Regions from separate parts of the Homo sapiens genome. Here region 2 is linked to region 1. Evidence: promoter capture Hi-C in human tissues and cell types (Jung and others, 2019). All regions are on one chromosome and are shown on one strand. The core of a region is centred on a gene start or on the middle of the fragment in contact, and the rest is flanking DNA. Distances in the headings are between cores, read along the strand shown. Region 1 holds the start of GALK1 (galactokinase 1). Region 2 overlaps SRP68 (signal recognition particle 68).

Evidence for each region. The method cuts DNA at HindIII sites, captures the fragments that hold promoters and counts their contacts. A contact is called where the count stands out against the background at its distance.
Region 2: a contact is called between a fragment that was not itself captured here and the fragment with the promoter of GALK1 in region 1, in 1 of the 25 tissues and cell types used here (spleen).

Annotation. Positions count from the first base shown.
Region 1 is chr17:75,763,244-75,768,778 of GRCh38, forward strand. It overlaps GALK1 (galactokinase 1), which reads right to left and starts at 1,949. Exons shown (of 8, transcript NM_000154.2): 1 at 1,729-1,949; 2 at 654-843; 3 at 77-196. The coding sequence starts at 1,893. RefSeq lists enhancers at 964-1,173, 1,204-1,433 and silencers at 1,544-1,693, 1,924-2,113. The HindIII fragment of the contact is 26,637 bases long and covers 1-5,535 here.
Region 2 is chr17:76,037,858-76,043,392 of GRCh38, forward strand. SRP68 (signal recognition particle 68) reads right to left here. Exons shown (of 16, transcript NM_014230.4): 14 at 3,046-3,121; 15 at 2,562-2,617; 16 at 928-2,076. The coding sequence ends at 1,849. Among named protein-coding and RNA genes, the nearest start is that of EVPL, 13 kb to the left of the region's middle. RefSeq lists enhancers at 2,301-3,002, 3,003-3,704. The HindIII fragment of the contact is 4,661 bases long and covers 1,274-5,535 here.

The DNA.
Region 1 (5,535 bases), core at 699-3,198:
AGGCATAGTAGAAGCTGGGACCACCTGGAGACCTCAGGGAAGGAGGGCTGGGTCAGGGCTGGGGCCTAGCTGGTACCTGGACAGAGCTGCTGGAGGAAGGTGTACGTGGCCACTTCCAAGGATGCTGAGCTGGACAGGCCACCCCCCAGGGGCACTGAGCTGACCACCACTGCACTGAAGCCAGGGAGGGGGGCAGCTGCAGGGGAAAGAACAGGTGATGGTAAGAGGGGCTGCCTGGGAGGATGGCACAGGAAGGGCAGGTGTCCTGGCGGGAAGGGCAGCAACGGCCTAGCAGCTGTTTCTAGGGTGTGTGTCTCAATTGTCAGAAGCCACCAACCTGCTGGGCCAAGGGACCCACTGCCCTCCATTTTCCCACCCTCTGAGGTTGCTGGGACACTTCTAATTGTCCTCCTGGTTTAGGGCTCTGGAGGGAAAAAAGGCTGGGGTTCAAATCCTGGCTCCTCCAATCAGGTCACGGGAAACCCAGGGCAAGTTCCCGACCTTCTGGGGGCATCAGTTTCCTCATCTGTACAATGGGATGCTCCACTCTACAAGCCTTCCCCACAGTGTATCAGACAAATGAATGGGCTCTGTGGCTGTGAGGTGGCACTCCTAGTATCAGTGAGGACTTGGCTCAGGCCTGGGCCCCATACCTGGGTAGTACTGAATCACTCCCTTGACATAGTTGGCCCACCGAGGAGTCCCAGGCTCCAGCGAGCGCTGGGCTGTGGGCAGTGGAAACTGCAGCCGCTGGGGCTCATCGGCACCCTCAGAGGTGGTGAGGAGAGACACCAGCCCATCCTTGCGGGGGCTGCCCACCAGCACCGTCATGAGCTCCAGAGCCTGGCAGGAGAGACAAGCAGTACGTGAGGCTTCCGCCAGCTGGAGTAAGCCTCTCCAATGACACTGCCTCCAGCCGAGGTTCTGATGCCTCCACAGTCATCAGGTTCTGAACCTCCAGGTTCAGCGTCGCAGGGAAGATCCTGAGGGCCAGCTGACCTTGGGGGCTTGAGCCCTGCCCCCTTAGGTCTTCAGGGGCGGGGCGGCTGCAGCTGGAGCACAGACCTGGACTCTGCCCTGAGCTGTGGGGCAAGGGGGAGAGCTAGCCCAAAGGGAAAACAGATCACTGGAGCTCCAAAGCCTTTACATTTTGGGGTGGCTCTGGACATCCTGTACCTGTGCACTCCCCAAGCTGCAGATGGGGCGGAAAGCGCCCCCCGCTGAAAGCTGGGAGTCCTCACTCCCAAGTCGCAGCCCCGCCAAGAACCTGCTGTGTGACCTCCAGCAGTTCACTGGGCCTCTCTAGGCCTCAGTTTCCTCCTCTGTAAATTGAACGGGCTGGGCCAGAAGGCTACGTTCGCCCAGGTCTGCGGTTGGGGCCCCACGGTGGCCGGAGGCGCGGAGTGTCCCCTTCTGCGTGGCACACAGGGCCTCACAGTTTAAGGGGAACATGCTCCCAGGTTGAAGGCGAGGAGCCCCAGCCCCCAGAGGGCGGGCTTGAGCCAAGAGGCGGCCGCGCACCCTCTCCCGGCCACTTCCTCGCTTCCTCCCTTCCAACGTGGGGAACAGCCTGTCCCGGGGACTCTTCCGTGCACCGGTGCTCCAGGCGCAGCTGCCCGCCCCACATCTCCCGCGGGAAGAACTCGCCCCCAGCGTCCCCGAGGCCCGCCCTCCTCGGCGGCCGGGACAGGCGGCGGCGGGCTAGGGGCTCCCCGTGCAGCCCCTCACCATAGGCAGCACCAGGCCCTGGTTGTAGTCCGTGTGTTCCCCGATGAGGTTGACGCGGCCCGGCGCTGACACGGCCAGCTCGGGCTCGGCCCCGAACTCCTCCCGGAAGGCTCGCCGGGCCTCGGCCAGCAGCTCCGCGACCTGGGGCTGTCTCAAAGCAGCCATGACGCGCGCCTGCAGCTCTGCACAGCTGCTCCGGCACAGCCCCGTCGGCGCGGGATGCTCGGGCGGGGCCCCGCGCGGGGGTGCGCACATTCCCGCCAGCCCCGCCCCGCGCCCGGACGCCCCGCCCCCAGACCTCAGCCGGTTCCGCCCCCACCCGCAACTCCCGTGGGAATCCAGCTGCTGGGTGGTGGGTGGCAGGGGCTAATGGTGCCGGGTGGGATACAGCGCCCCCGATGGTGTCCTTCCCTCTGGACTTCGGGAAGAACCAATGAGCACTCACTAGAGTGAGAATAGCCCTGAGTGGCACTTGGCATGACCAGGATTTCTGAGCTGCCCTTCCCTGGCGCTGGTGACTTTCTATGTGCCTCACCACCCACCACCACCCACACAGCCAGAGCAATGGAGCTGGCACCCGGTTGACCTGGGATTCCCAAAGGGATCCCCTAGGTCCCCAGGGCCAGCAGCTGTGAGAGGTCATCAGCCTCTGATCACCGGTCTCCAAGAGGGTGACCTGACACTCACTGTAAGTAGAGATAAAGACAGACAAGTTTGGGCCGGGCGCAGTGGCTCACGCCTGTAATCCCAGCACTTTGGGAGGCCGAGGTGTGCAGATCACCTGAGGTCGGGAGTTGGAGACCAGCCTGACCAACATGGAGAAACCCCATCTCTACTAAAAAATACAAAATTAGCTGGGCATGGTGGCTCATGCCTGTAATCCCAGCTACTCGGGAGGCTGAGGCAGGAGAATCACTTGAACCTGGGAGGCGGAGGTTTCGGTGAGCTGAGATCACACCATTGCACTCCAGCCTGGGCAACAAGAGCAAAACTCTGTCTCAAAAAAAAAAAAGACAAGTTTGGTGGTGACCAGAGAGTCAATTTTACAAGCTCCTTTTCTAGGTAATACGCAACAGCTCCTAGCAATGGAGAATTGGACTAGGGTGGCGGTGGCCAGCAGTGGGCCCAGCCCCTCCCTTAAGGACCTGCCACAGCTGTCCAGGTAGGTTGTGCTGTTGGCCCCAGCAGGCACTACTTCAGCCCAGAAGCCCTTGTCTCAGAGGCGTGGCCTTGTTCCCAGTCAGGCACTCTTCTCTTGCTATCCTGCATCCTAAACCTGCTGGCCGGCCCCAACTGCTGCCTTGATACCTGTCCACAGCTGCCCACCCTACATGGAACCTTGAAACTGAAAGACTGAAATGTAAGCAGCTTGCTTGGGGTTAGGGTGGGAGTAGTGTGGGGAGTTATGGCCAGGGATTTAGCTTGGGGCCTGCTCAGGGGTGTGCCCAAAGAGTGGGGAACTGCATTCCAAGGGCAATTCTGAAAACTCTTAGAAGAAAACATAGGGGTACAGTTTTGTGACATTGGTTAGGAAATGTTTATTTGGTTTCTGTTTTTGAGACGGAGTTTCGCTCTCGTTGTCCAAGCTGGAGTGCAATGGCGTGATCTCAGCTTACTGCAACCTCTGCCTCCCGGGTTCAAGCGATTCTCCTGCCTCAGCCTCCGGAGTAGCTGGGATTACAGGCACGTGCCACCATGCCCGGCTAATTTTTTGTATTTTTAGTGGAGACTGGGGTTTCACCAGGTTAGCCAGGCTGGTCTCAAACTCCTGACCTCAGGTGATCCACCCACCTTGGCCTCCCAAAGTGCTGGGATTACAGGCGTTAGCCACCACACCTAGTCATGTTTTTTTATTTTTATTTATTTACGTATTTATTTATTTTAGACAGATCTTGCTCTGTTACCCAGGCTGGAGTGCAGTGGCGCGATCTTGGCTCACTGCAACCTCCGCCTCCCAGGTTCAAGCGATTCTCCTGCCTCAGCCTCCCCAGTAACTGGGATTACAGGCACCCTCCACCATGCCTGGATAATTTTTGTAAAAGCAGGGTTTCACCATGTTGGCCAGGCTGCTCTTGAACTCCTGACCTCAAGTGATTTGCCTGCCTCAGCCTCCCAAAGTGCTGGGATACAGGTGTGAGCCAATGCGGCCAGGCAATGGTTTTTTAGATATGACATCAAAAGCACAAGTGACAACAGAAAAATAAACTGTACTTCATCAAAGTGAAATATTTTTCTGCAACAAAGAACTGTCACGCGTGTCCGTGTGAACAGACCACCAAACAGGCTTTGTGTGAGCAACAAGGCTGTTTATTTCACCTGGGTGCAGGCGGGCTGAGTCTGAAAAGAGTAAGCAAAGGGTGGTGGGATTATCATTAGTTCTTATAGGTTTTGGGATAGGTGGTGGAGTTAGGAGCAATGTTTTGCGGGCAGGGATGGATCTCACAAAGTACATTCTCAAGGGTGGGGAGAATTACAAAGAACCTTCTTAAGGGTGGGGGAGATTACAAAGTACATTGATCAGTTAGGTTGGGGCAGGAACAAATCACAGTGGTGGAATGTCATCAGTTAAGGCTATTTTCACTTCTTTTGTGGATATTCAGTTGCTTCAGGCCATCTGGATGTATACGTGCAGGTCACGGGGGCTATGATGGCTTAGCTTGGGCTCAGAGGCCTGACAAGAACATTGTCAAGAAAGTGAAAAGACAACTCACAGAATGGAAGAAAGTACTTGCAAATCATGTATATCTCAGGGGCTTGGAGTTTGAGACCAACTTGGGCAACGTGGGAAGACCTCACTGCTACAAAAAAAAAAAAAAAAATTAGCCAGGTTGGGTGGCACACACCTGTGGTCCCAGCTACTCAGAAGGTGAGAGACCCTGTGTCAAAGAAGAAAAAAAAAAAGCAAAAGATTTCAAGAGACATTTTTCCAAATAATATAAATACAAATGGCCAATAAGCACATGAAAAGATGCTCAAATGTCAGATGTGGTGGTTCATGCCTGTGATCCCAGACTTTGGGAGACCGAGGTAGGCGGATCACTTGAGAGCAGGAGTTCAAGACCAGACCAGCCTGGCCAACATGGTGAAACCCCATCTCTACTGAAAACACAAAAATTAGCCAGGCATGGTGGCGCACATGTGTAATGCCAGCTTACTCGGGAGGCTGAGACACAAGAATCACTTGAACCCGGGGGGTGGAGTTTGCAGTGAACCGAGATCTCGTCACTGCACTCCAGCCTAGGTGACATAGTGAGACTTGGTCTCGGGAAAAAAAAACAAGTGATGTATCTATACAATAGAAATATTAATCCATAAAAAGAAATGAAGTACTGATACGTGTAACAACATGGATGGAGCCTTCAAGAAAAAAATTAGCTGGGCGTGGTGGCGGGCACCTGTAGTCCCAGCTACTCGGGAGGCTGAGGCAGGAGAATGGCGTGAACCTGGGAGGCGGAGCTTGCAGTGAGCAGAGATCGTGCCACTGCACTCCAGCCCAGGTGACAGCGCAAAACTCCGTCTCAAAAAAAAAAAAAAAAGAATGAACTTTGAAAATATTATGGTGAGTGAAGGAAGCCAGTCACACAAGACCACCTGTTGTATATCCAGAATCGGCAAATCTCTACAGATGGAAAGTTAATTAGCGGTTGCTTAGGCCTGAGGGAATAGCAGGGTCAGAGCCAAAGGATGGCAGGTTTCTCTGTGGTAAGGAAAATGTTCTAAAATGGACTGTGGTGATGGTTGCACATGCCTGTGAATATCCTAAACTGTTGAATTTTATGTTTTAAATGGGTGAATTATATGGTATGT
Region 2 (5,535 bases), core at 2,354-4,853, 280 kb after region 1:
TAAAACCACCTTTACAAAAATTCTAACGGTGAGATTATTAGAGTGAAAAAGGTCTAGCCTAACCCACTCCATCTTGCTTCTAACCTCCAAGCTGTCCTTGTTCATTCCTGGGAATAAGCCGAACTCACTTTGGGAGAAGCTTACAGTTTACTGTTTAACTTTGAAACAAAGATGGTAACAGCACTTTCCGGAAATAAACCCCCTTCTTGCCTGGGGCCCAGACTGCCTTTGTAGGACTAACGAATTAGCCACAAAAATTGAAATTATGGTTTAGGAGTCATGCAGCCAGAGGCCCAAGATTCTGAACCTTCCCAGTTGCTCCTAGGGATGACATCACTGTTGTAAAACCTAAGAATGGTGCTCGAGATATTTTTCAGACCCTGCACTTTATGGATCAGCTGGCACCATCCATCCAAACTGGCTCATCTGGTCTTGTAGCCCCCACCCAGGAAACCGACTCAGCACAAGAGGCCAGCTTCAACTCCCTATGACTTCATCTCCAACTCCCTGACTTCATCTCCAACTCCCTATGACTTCATCTCCAACCTGACCAATCAGCACTCCCCATTTCCTGACCCCCTACCCACCAAATTATCCTTAAAATTCCCAGTCTCTGAATTTTCAGGGAGACCAATGTGAGTAATAAACTCCAGTCTCCTGTTTAGACGGCTGTGTGTGAACTAAACTCTCTATTGCAATTCCTGTTTCCATGAATCAACTCCATCTGGGCAGCGGGCAAGAACCCTCGGGGGGTTACAATGCCATCCTGAAACAATGCTCTTGGATTTTTAACCAGTCAGCCTTTTCTTCAAGCCACTGGGTTTGCTCAAAAACGGAAAACATCTAAGCCAACATTTCTTGTGACGAATTTTCTTTCCTATGTGACAGATGAGTTTTGATTTCCAAAGGGAATCGTTAAGTGTCAGGTACATGTTTAAATCACTTTTATTCCTTGCTTTCTTACATTGTTTTTGTGACTTCTATTATTGATGTTATAATAGAAGTGAAAAGGGATGACTAAGGAAAAACGGGGGGTAACGAAGGGGATTAAAATATAATGGCATCTAAAAATTACACATTGGGAAGTCCTGAAAAATAGTGCCTCTAACATGTGTATCTGGCATCAGCCTCACCTAGTTGCCGGTAAGTCAGGTTACACTTGACCTCACCGGCTTCACGCAACTAGGCTCCCGAGGAGAGAACGGGGACTGGACATGAGGGAGGGCATATAAGAAATGGGCACAGTCTCCGTCATCTTTGCCTTTTAATATAAGATTTGGTTTCATCATTTCTGAGTGTAACATATTTCTTCTAAAAATAGAGCTCTCTGCTTGTCTGAAACTTCTTAGCGTTCACTGGGAGGTGAAGGGGAATAAGGCTGACCGTAATTCTGGGGTGACGTTGCCAGTTTCATAGTCATAGATAAACTTCTCAAGGGCTCCTGGATGCTCACAGCAAGGATGAGTTCATTTCAAATCCATGGTACTGAAGAAGCATGACAAAGCGTTTCAAGGCCCCATCTGTGCCTGGTGTGGACTCCTGAACGCATTACTGACCAAAGGCAATCAATCACAGCTCACAGGGCACCAGACAGCAGCGGCCCCTTTCCCAGGAGGTACAGGAGACAGGATGACCCTGCACACATTTACCAGAAGACAACAGGGTGCTCTCCTGACACGCTGCTTAAGAACGTGTACAGACACAAGATGTAGGAATGCAGGGCCGAAGATGTTAAACTCTTGCCCCGGGCCAATGCAGACCTGGATTTAATATCATGGAACTTGCTGGGATTTTCTCACAATACAGATTAAGAGTCAGAATCTCCCCCGCCCCCGAGGAAGAGCCTGGTTAGCTCCTGAATCCAAAGATGCCCTTGATGTATCCAGTGAGGCCACTCTTGGTCTTCTGTTCCAACTTGTCCTCAAGGGGTGGGAAAGCCACATGGTTGAGGGCCAGGTCAAAGAACAAAGGCTTGCAGGGAATGGGCTGGAAGCCTGGTGGGAAGTGCACAAGGTTGGCTTGCTTGGTGACAAGGGAAGGGTCCAGGCAGAATGTCTCAAACCGTTCAACCAGAGGCTGGAAGTCAAATCAAAGAGACGTATGTAGCATCGGTCACAGAACACCCTTGGTGAACATTCCTGAGTGCCGACTGCCTGGTTCAGAGCTTTACAGGGGCCATCTCACTCAATCACTCAATCCCGACAGCCTCCTACGAGGAGGGGCTACCACATCCCTGCCTTGTAGTCAAAGTCACTGAAACCCAGAGAGGCTAAGAGAGTGGCAGGCTAGGACTGGGGTGCAGGCCTGTTGGCCATGTTACGAGTTAGAGCTCTTACCCACGGGTGCTACTCTTTACAGCAACAGGTTCCTCAACCCTCTTCCCAGGGATGATCTGACATCTAGGAAGCTTTATGCAAGAAGCTTTGAGGTTGGGTAAGAGAAGGGAGGGAGGTGGGGGGTTTCCTTAGAAATTTAGGGTCCACTGCTCTATAATGAGCATGCATTCCTAGTTTGTTACTAATCCTGCTTCGTATTCCTCAAAAACCATGGCCCAGACTTACCTTATTGTCCTTGACTTGGGAGGAGGAGGTCTCTGTTTGATGAGCGTCGTTTGCATCTGAAAGTTTCACAGGGATTCAGTAAGAACAAGGATTTATAATAGCACACTAATCACAAATGAGGCCTATCACACAGGTGGCCCCTACATCCCAAAAGCAAAAGGAGCCAGCATGTGGGGAAGCCAGGCCTGTCTCCTGCTGAGAAGTGGTGGAGATAAACAGATCAATCCCAGATCCAATGCCGTCGGCCCAGTGAAGCCAGCACAGTTGCATGAGGACAGTAACAGGGAGAAGGGCCAGTGTAACAGTGCACTCGAAATGCTTCTACACAATCTGATGCCCAGCTGGCACAAGTAAAGGCCAGGAACATCTTACAGATGAACCAAGACAACCCTTTCAACCTTAAAACAGTAGTATGGGGTGTGACAGAGAAGGGGAGTGGCAGGAAGGGAAGTCTGGGGATACAAAGGCCAGGCAGGGGGCTCACCAAGGATGGCTGCGGCCTGCAGGGAGCACTTCTCTGACCGCACTTGAGTGATGAGCTCTTGCACATCAGGCAGGTCCTGTAAGATTCAGAAAACGTGTACTCCCGAGCCAGGGCCAGGTCAGAGAAGCACACCAAGCTAACCCGAGTTAACCGACCCCACTGGTATTTTCACAGGACTTTAGACTTTCTAAACGGTTCTCACTATTAGAACAAAACAAAACAAAGCAAAACACTAGCCTGTTTCAAATGGGAAAAGCTATGCCACGGCTTAAGTAATAATGCCTGGAAATAAAGATGATGTTAATATTAATAAATTTATCATACACTAAACAGTGTGCCAGGCATTGTTCTAAGCAGGTTACATAATCACTAGCTTAACCTTCTCAATAATCCTGAGGCAGTTTGCACTCCCATTTTACAGATGAGAAAATGGAAGCATGGAGAGGTTAAGCAATGTGCCAGCCATGCGCCCAAGTGGCAGCGGGCTGGGGTAAAGGGCTGGGCCATCTGGCTCAAGGGCATAAGCCCTTAGTCGTTACATCCCACTGCTTCAACGAGGGTGATGAATTTTCCTGGCCTCGGTCTCTTGCTTGGCATATTGGGAATGACCTGAGAAGGTCTGGATGCCACAGAATCCTTCATGCCTCCATTCTGACACTTCCCCCACAAAACAATTCAGCACATGAAATCAGGTCCACACTGGTTTGCCCCGCGTCCCAAGATGATATTCCATGGTGGTGACGCTGCCATGCCTGTCACTCCCACCTGCCCACATCCCTGTGCTGTTTTCTAGCTCTGCCTTTGCTTGGGGTCTCTTTTATTTCTTCTGCATCCATAGGTGGGCTCCTGCATGCCAGTCTGTGGCTACAACAAAACTACAAGCTCTCTGAAGGCAGAGAGCTTCTTCTCTACCCCTCTGAGCTTGCACGGGATCCAGCAGCTCCTACACTGGCTGGCGTGACTCCATCAACGACAGGAACCTTTGCTTGCTTTTTTTTTTCTTTTTTTGAGACGGAGTCTCACTCTGTTGCCGCCCAGGGGCGTGATCTTGGCTCACTGCAAGCTCCGCCTCCCGCGTTCACGCCATTCTCCTGCCTCAGCCTCCCGAGTAGCTGGGACCACAGGCGCCTGCCACCATGCCCGGCTAATTTTTTTGTATTTTTAGTAGAGGTGGGGTTTCACTATGTTGGCCAGGATGGTCTCGATCTCCTGACCTCGTGATCTGCCCGCCTCGGCCTCCCACAGTGCTGGGATTACAGGCGTGAGCCACGGTGCCCGGCCCCTGCTTGCTTTTCTAAATGGTCTCTACTTGTCAAATATACATGGATTCCTTAGACCAGCTGATGTTGCAACAAGTTCTATACCATCACAGCACGCCACAAGCTTAAGAAGCTAGTTATCGTTCAATAATCAGTAAAGCACCGGGAGTAGTGGCTCACGCCTGTAATCCTAGCACTTTGGGAGGCTGAGGTCAGCGGATCAAGAGGCTTGATCACTTGAAGTCAGGAGTTTGAAACCAGCCTGGCCAACATGGTGAAACCCTCTACTAAAAATACAAAAATTAGCTGGGCTTGGTGGCACAAGCCGAGATCGTGCCACTGCACTCTAGCCTAGGAGACAGAGACTCCATCTTAAAAAAAAAAAAAAAAAAAAGTAAAGCAAAGAAAGCCTTCCATGGCTGCACTTTATTTATTTATTTTGAGATGGAGTCTTGCTCTGTCACTCAGGCTGGAGTGCAGTGGCTTGATCTTGGCTCACTGCAACCTCTGCCTCCCAGATTCAAGTGATTCTCCTGCCTCAGCTTCTCAAGTAGCTGGGATTACAGGTGTGCACCACCACACCTGGCTATTTTTTTCTATTTTTGTAGAGACAGAGTTTCGCCATGTTGCCCAGGCTGGTCTCGAACTCCTTACCTCAAGTGATCTGCCCACCTCAGCTTCCCAAACTGCTGGGATTACAGGCATGAGCCACTGCATCCAGCCCTGTGGCTGTACTTTAGATCAAGCATTTCCTTAGCTTTAACAGACCCCCAAATGGCCTGGGGATCTTGTTAAAATGCAGATATTGGCCAGCATGGTGGCTCATGCCTCCAATCTCAAGGTTTTGGGAGGCAGAGGCAGGAGGACTGCTTGAGGCCAGGAGTTCGAGGCCATGAGTTCAAGGCCAGCCTGGGCAACATAGTGAGACCCCCATCTCTACAAAAAAATAAAAATTGGCCTGGTATGGTGGCTCATGCCTGTAGTCCCAGCTACTCAGGAGGCTGAGGTGGGAGGGTCACTTGAGCCCAGGAGTTCGAGGCTGCAGTGAACTATGATGGTGCTACTTGCATTCCAGCCTGGGTGACAGAGCGAGACCCTGTCTCAAGAAAGACAGAAAGAAAGAAAACAAGCAGAAGGTTCCGGGTGGGAGCTGAGAGGCTGCATTCCTAGTGAGGCCCCGCCGCTGCTGCTGGTCTTGCGCATGCCCTGCAGGACAGCTTCACCAGTGCTT